Regions from separate parts of the Homo sapiens genome. Here region 1 is linked to region 2. The links are contacts of gene promoters, found by promoter capture Hi-C in blood cells and fetal thymus (Javierre and others, 2016). All regions are on one chromosome and are shown on one strand. The core of a region is centred on a gene start or on the middle of the fragment in contact, and the rest is flanking DNA. Distances in the headings are between cores, read along the strand shown. Region 1 overlaps HTT (huntingtin). Region 2 holds the start of DOK7 (docking protein 7).

Region 1 (3,658 bases), core at 863-3,362, 270 kb after region 2:
TGAGCAAAGCTGGAAGGCCGTGTTGAGGCTACAAGGCCAGACAGCTCTAATTCAGCCACATGGACAACAAACAAAGCTGATGTTTCCACCTCCTGGGCCTCTGGTGCCATCATCTGTTTCTAAACCAGTCTATCTTGGACCAAAAGAGAGGGATGCTGGTTACCCCAAATGTTGTAAACAGGAGGACAGCTATCTTTCTTGGCTATTCTGCTTATCCTAGATGGAATGTGAAATAGGCAAACCACTTTGGGATGAATACCCTCCTCTCCCAACAAGAGGAAAAGCAGGAAACAAAAAGTCAAGGGTGCCATTCTGACTAGTTCCTGAACCAGGTATTATTTAAGAAGTACCCACGCCTGAAATGGACAAATTTAAAGGTCTTCATTTTCGGTTTATGGGTGGAATTCATAGCCTTTGTTTAAGCAGTACGTGAATACATATTACCAATTTTACATGCTAAACACACCTTACTTATATAAAAACACGAGATGAATTATTTCAACTCTTATCTTGAAACCAATCAAATACAGTAATTCTGCCACCTAGTGTCTTTCAAATAAATGCAGTCAAAGGAAACAAGAAGACAGAAACACACATTTATATATACACACACACACAACTTACTTGCAAATGTTGGGCAGATTAAATAAGGTCAAAAGATACCAGCAGGAAACCCACGTGCCCTCTCCAAGCCCTCCACTCCCACCAGTAAAGCTGCTTCTCAACAGACCTGCACTGTCTCATACAGGAGCCACTATCCACACAGAGCTGTTTAAATTTAAGTTAATTAAAATTAAATAAAATTATAAATTAAGCTATCCAATCAGACCAGCCACATTTCAGGTACAGAACACCACATGTGGCTAAAGGCAACTAAATTAGACAGTGCAGACATCCTGTCTCTGCTGGAAGTCCTATTGGACAACACTTCAACAGTAACAATATTTTGCCTCAATTGTGAGATGGAAGGAGAGGAAATCAGCGCAATAAGACAGTGACCACATTTGAGCTGCACAGAGATCGCTCGGACATGTAGAAGGACACAGAACACACCACCCTTATCCCACAAAGGCAAGACTAGTCCTTAGAAATGAGGCTGTCTCCTCCTGGCATCAAATCCAAACCAACTGGTGGCAAAATATTAAAATGACCAACATACTAAAATTGACCTATCATTCATTAACAAGCCATATTTTCTCAACTTTAAACTTATTACAGTGGTCAGTGAAGCATAATCCGAAGATCTTTAAAAAGAAACAAGAAAATTATTTCAATAATAGCAAGTAAGGCTCAAAAACTAGAGTCCACTATGAAAATTAAATTTTGGCCATGGCCTGTGCGGAGGGTGACAGCAGCTGAATGCAGAGGCCATGAAGAGGCCCCTTTCTCCAGGATTCTGTGGCGCCGTGCGGCCGGGCCCTACCGGCATCCTGCCTGCCTGCCTGTACTCTCAGCTGCTCTCTTGGGTGCCGGAACTCTTCTCTGCAAAAAGCTAGCTACTTCTCTCCCTCAGAAATCCTGCCTCTGCCTGCCCACCCATTTCGTCTGTCACTGCACTACTGTTCTTCTTCATAGGAAATATCAAGACTTGTGATACTGACGCACTGACTGGAAGTTCCGTGCAGGCAAGAGCCAGGATGCTCAACTGAACTTGGCACAACCAGAGCCTGCTAGCATGGAGGCGGGCCACGCCAAGAGTATCCTCAAATGGACCAAGGCTGAAAATGCTATCTTTTACTCTAAGATATGTATGCAAAATGTGTACAAAAATCCAGTAAGAGAAAGGAGCTTTGATCACAAAAGCACCCTGCTCCCATCCCTTTTTAAGGCAACTACTTGTTATCATTTCTGTTTTCAGTTCTGGTAGTTACCTCCAAAATTCTAACTGCTGTGCTGCTATCCCTTGCAGCAGACCATCAGTTACTGCATGTGCTCCTCTCCCTTACTCCCGGAGACCAGCCCCACCTCCTCATCAATGGAATGCTGTCCAGTCTCCCATTTGGCCCATGTGGACCAGAGCATTCAGGGGTTTATGGTCACCCATATTACTCATGCAAGGCCAATCACATAGGCCTACTTGAGGGGCTGAGAACACAGCCTGCTAGAGGTCATCTTCGGTCATGTGAAAACAGCCCACCAGAGAACAAAACTAACACAGGAAGCAGAGATGAGACTGGGCGTGGTGGGTGACACCTATAACCTCAGCATTTTGGGAGGCAGAGGCAGGAGGATCGCCTGAAGCTAAGAGTTAAAGACCCGCCTGGGCAACACAGCAAGACTTCCATTTCTACAAAAAAATTTTAAAACCTATCCAGGCATGTTGGTACATGCCTATTGTCTCAGCTACTTAGAAGGCTGAGGCAGGAAGAACTCTAGAGCCCAGGAGTTCGAGGCTAGAGTGAGCCTCGCACTGCACTTCATGCCACTGCACTTCAGCCTAGGCGACAAAGTGAGACCCTATCTTTAAAATAAAATTTAAAAATTATATAAATGAAAAGAAGAAAGCAGAGCTGAGATGCATAAATATACAATGCAGACCACAGAATTACAACACTAGATGCAGTCCTACCAACTACCCTTGCCTGCACTTTCCAGGAGCTTAAACCAACACATTCTTTCTCTTACTCTAGTTTAAACTGGGGTTTTATCCCTGCAACTGAAAGACTGTTGAATACAATCACCACATCATAATTTGTCATGATTTATAGACTTCAGACAACTTTAGACATCACCCATTAACTCTACCGTAATAAAGATGAGATTTAGCTCATTTATACTACCTCCTAACAATCTGAATTACATGTTTAGTTCTATTTGGAGACCTCTGAAGCCTCTATATTTTGGTCTGTCAACTTCAGATGATGTAACCATATAATCCCAACAATGCTAGGTGAAGATTTTAGTTCCCCTTCCACTCCCCACCTCTATCTCTACCATCTACTTGCCAAATTAACTTGGTTAGTTTTCCTTTTATATTCATCAGAACCGAAGACATTTTCATTCTGTTCTGAAACCATAATTAAGTCAGTAAGTCTTCAGTGTTTCAGTCATACATTGATTTCAAAAATGAAAGCTCGGGCCGGGTGCGGTGGCTCACACCTGTAATCCCAGCACTTTGGGAGGCCGAGGCGGGTGGATCACCTGAGGTCAGGAGTTCGAGACCAGCCTCAACATGGAGAAACCCTGTCTCTACTAAAAATACAAAAAATTAGCCAGGCGTGGTGGTGCATGCCCGTAATCCCAGCTACTCGGGAGGCTGAGGCAGGAGAATTGCTTGAACCTGGGAGGCAGAGGTTGCGGTGAGCCGAGATGGCACCATTGCACTCCAGGATGGGCAACAAGAGTGAAACTCTGTCTCAAAAAAAAAAAGAAAGAAAGAAAGAAAGAAAGAAAGCTCAAGCAGTATTTACATTATGACTATCTGAATCTAGTTCCCAAGAGAGCCAAGGATCCTAGAAGGATGGCATCTCTTTCTATAGGTCTTTGATCGTGACTCCTAAGCCGCTTAAAGGAGAACCTTTTTAATATCAAGGGCTTCCAACAGATCAACTGCTGAACAATCAAGCCACATTTTGGTTTGCCTCATATTTGGACCATGACTTAATGCTGTTTGCTGTTACTAGAAATTAGAATTGCCTTTCTATTTTCTTGAGAGAAG
Region 2 (3,660 bases), core at 755-3,254:
GGGGCCAGGGGAAGAGGCATCAGGGCCTCTGAGCGGAGAGGAGGTGCCAGGCTGGCCTGGTCAGGGTGGGGAGGTGGGCGTGAGAACTCCGCTCTGTCCCATCCCCTCATCTGACCGACCTCTGGGCAACCCCACAGGGTGTCAGTTTCAACCCTGGGCTGCTGGAGTGACCAACACAGAAAGCAGGTGTCCAAAGCAATGGGTCCCAGGCCAGTGAGTCAGTGGGTGCTAGGGACACCTGGCCTCAAGGCTTGGAATGAACATCCACCCAGAGGGGGCATGGCACCTTCTACTACCCCACATCACCTCCCACGCCAGCCCCAGAAGGCTGCAGATCTCAACTGCGCAGGATACGGGATAACCCAGCAGACGCTCGGGAGCCACCATGTTCACCTACAGACTCACAGATTGTCCCACCTGGGGGACCCATTGCAAACTCCTGTCACTCCACTCAGGCACTCACCGGCCGGGGGAGCACACCCTCTTGAGGCTGGCAGGCCCTGCCTCCTGGGACTGTCTGATGCAGAAAGAAAATCCCTCCAACAGGGACAAAGACTTCTCCCCCGACACTCCTCTTTGGGGGCTGCTGTCCCGGGTGCCTTCCTGGGATGCGGCCTCTCTGGAGGGTCTGCACCGGCTCCAGCCCAGCACCATCCACCAAGCATCACCTGCCCCACCACGGCCCCGACCCAGCCACAGCTGACTAAAGCCTGTCATCCGCCCCAGCCTGGCAGGGCCTCTCACTCTGCCCAGACCCCATCCCTTCCTATACCAGGTCCCCTGCAGCCCCGGAGGACAAAGACGCCCTCCCAGGCTCTGTCGGTGCCCCCACAGCTCCAGGCAGGAGGTCTGGGCACGGAGGGCTGAGTGGAGAAGTGACCAGCGTGCAGTCCAGGCCCTGCAAGGGGAGGCGGAGGCAGGCAGGAAGTGCTTTCCTCCAGGACCACCTGAGGCCCTGCAGAGGGGACGCAGGAGGGATCCCTGCCCCACACCCTCCCTGGGAGTCACAGACACCCGTCCTGGAGGGTGCTCTGGCAGCCCCCTGGCGTACAGCCCCCCATGCACACAGGCCGAGCATCCCACCCAGACCCGGGCCTGGCCGGCTCTGCCGCACCTGTCCTCTGGAGCAGCTGCAGGCCCGGCTCAGCCCTCCCTACAGGCCCAGCGCTGCAGGCGGCCTGGGCTGCCAGACCTGGGGGCTCCATGCTGACCCTCCCCAAGCTGGGGTGCTGGCTCAGGGCGGGGACTGGGGGGGGACCCCTGCCTCCTCCCAGAGGACTGTTCCCCCAGCAATGTGGCAGTCACTCTGCCCTGCCCTACCGCAGCCCAGCCTCTCGTCTGCCTGGGAGGGGTCCAGGGTCAGCGCTAACCCACGCAGCACCCCTGGAGGCTGGGTTCGGGGGCCCTGCTCTGAGCGTTTCCACAAGCACAGCTCAACCCTCAGGTATGTGGGGCTTTGCTTCTGGGGGGCCCCTTGCTGCTCTGCTGGGGGGCTCAGGGCCTGCGTCCCCTCCGCCTACAGGGCCACCAGGCAGCCCCTCGGGCCTCAGTCTGCCCTGCTGGAAAGAGGGTTCTTCCGTCCAGGGCCCCCACCTGCGCTCCCAGGGGCGCCGGGGGGTCCGGGTCCGCACGGGGCTCTCGGGTTTCCCGGCGGGGTGACAGCGGCGGCGATTTTGGGCAAGCTGGCATTACTGCCCCGGGCCTCGGTAACCCGTGTCGCTACCCCCGCGCCCCCCGTCCCCCGCCCGCCCCGCTCACCTGCCACGGGCGACGGCTTCCGCAGCACCAGCCACCTACTCTTCCACTGCGGGGACAGGGGGGAGCGTGAGCCGCCGCCCGCGCCCGCGCCCCCCCCCCCCGCGCCCCCGACGCGCCCCGACCTTCTTGCCGTCCCGCAGCTTGACCTGGCCCTCCACCAGCGCCGCCTCGGTCATCTTCTGTCATGGTTCCGCGCCGCCGCGCTCGCCCCGGCGCCCCAGCCCAGGGTCACTTTCAAAATAGCTCGCAGGGCCCTGGGCTGGGCCAGGAGGGCGGGCCCGCGGGCAGGGCGGCGACACCGGCGACTCCAGGGCCGGCGCGGGCGGGGCTCCTTCTCCTGCGGGCGGCTCCCCCACCCCCACGGGCCCCTCTGGCCCCACCGTCCCGCGGCGGCCACTGGAGCCGCCCGCCCTCTGGAGCAAGCGCACCATCTGGGCTCAGACGCTCAGACCAGCGCCTGGCGGGGCGGGGGTCGGGCGGGGACTTCTTTTTCAAAAAGCAGAGACAACCACCTAGCAGACATCGGCCCCGCTCTGGGCACTGCTCCCAACTTTAAAGTTGGTCTTCAAACAATCCGGCTTCCCAGACTGGCATCTGCCCCTACCCCAGGGGTCACTAGACACCCGGACAACAGACTGGCCACAGGCAGCCCAGGCCTAGGATGCTCTCACATCCCCAGGCTTCCCCCACACTGAGGTGACCCCTCCCCAGGCAGGCAGTAGGGGTCGGGGAGCCCCTGGCAGCCTCTGTCTCTTCCTCCATTTCTGTTCCCATTAAAAGCCTGCAGGGACCCCAGTGCAGGTGGGCGGGTCCAGGACCCACAGTGCCGCCTCAGGGCCCCAGGTCTCCACCTCTTCTGCCCCCATCCCAGGCAAGAGCAGGCCCTGGTTAGGCCAGCCGGCTCCGATGGGCAGAGGAGCTGCCTGCTTTGTAAAGGACCTGCCAGCAGCCCTCCCAGCTGGGTGGACTTTGCGCTTCTGGACTCCCCCTCCTTGACCCTGTGGCTCCAGTCCAGCTGTCCCCAAGCTCTGGCCTGGGCATTAGATGTCACATCCAGGTTCTTCTGCAGAGAGGCCATGTGCTTTGGGGGACCTGGCAGGTCCGTGCCTTGGGTGTCAGCCCCATCCGAGAGACGGCCTCCACCACCCTGGGGTTGGGGACACCCAGCAGATACGGGAACAGCAGTGGGGAGGGGCGATGGCACCCTAGAAGATAAGCACCTGGACAAACAGCAAAGCTCCGTCCACATGCCCTACCCTAGACCCCATCCTCACGGGGCTGACGGTTCTCGGGGGAGAAGAAGGAAGGGGTAGACAGTGTCCCGTTAGGGAGGAGACGTCTTCATTTCATCCCATCCAGACCCTAGGCTGGGCTCTGTCTGCCTCGCACTGAGGAGCAAATGGAATCAGGGCAGCGTGAGGCCTCACAGCCAGGACTGAGCCACATCGGCTGACCTCAGAGCAGGGCTCAGAGGCATCGGGAGCCCTGGGCGCCCCTCCCCACTGCCCCTGTGATCCAAGAGACAGGTCTCCGGTGGGCCACAAGGGTTGGCTTTGGTGCTTCGGTGATGTCTTGTCAGGGCCTCATGCAAGGCGGGGGACACCAGGCCCAGGAAGCAGAATTTTGCATCCCCCACCCACCCCCGCAGTCACCTGTGCAGCCACCAGCCGCCTTCCGCAGAACAGTTGCTGGGTCACAGAGCCCCATTCATGCTCCCCACACATCCCAGGCCCCCAAGGGGCTGGCCCAGGACAGCCGGTGCGGAGGCGGGGGCCGTTGGGGCTGTAGCCACAGACACATCCGCTGCCCTGGGCGCCTGGCACTTGCTTATCCCTACAGGGAGAGGCAGGGCCCTGCTGCATTCCTGAGTGCTGGCCCGGGCCCAGGCTCCTGCCATGCCTG

The links. The method cuts DNA at HindIII sites, captures the fragments that hold promoters and counts their contacts. A CHiCAGO score of 5 or more calls a contact.
Region 1: a contact is called between a fragment that was not itself captured here and the fragment with the promoter of DOK7 in region 2, in 2 of 17 cell types (naive CD4 T cells and M0 macrophages). The highest score is 5.2, in naive CD4 T cells.

The regions. Positions count from the first base shown.
Region 1 is chr4:3,190,891-3,194,548 of GRCh38, reverse strand. The region is part of intron 40 of HTT (huntingtin); the gene reads right to left. Among named protein-coding and RNA genes, the nearest start is that of MSANTD1, 56 kb to the left of the region's middle. The HindIII fragment of the contact is 7,428 bases long and covers 1-3,658 here.
Region 2 is chr4:3,461,650-3,465,309 of GRCh38, reverse strand. It overlaps DOK7 (docking protein 7), which reads right to left and starts at 2,004. Exons shown (of 7, transcript NM_173660.5): 1 at 1,881-2,004; 2 at 1,759-1,804. The coding sequence starts at 1,934. RefSeq lists an enhancer at 2,379-3,226. The HindIII fragment of the contact is 8,339 bases long and covers 1-3,660 here.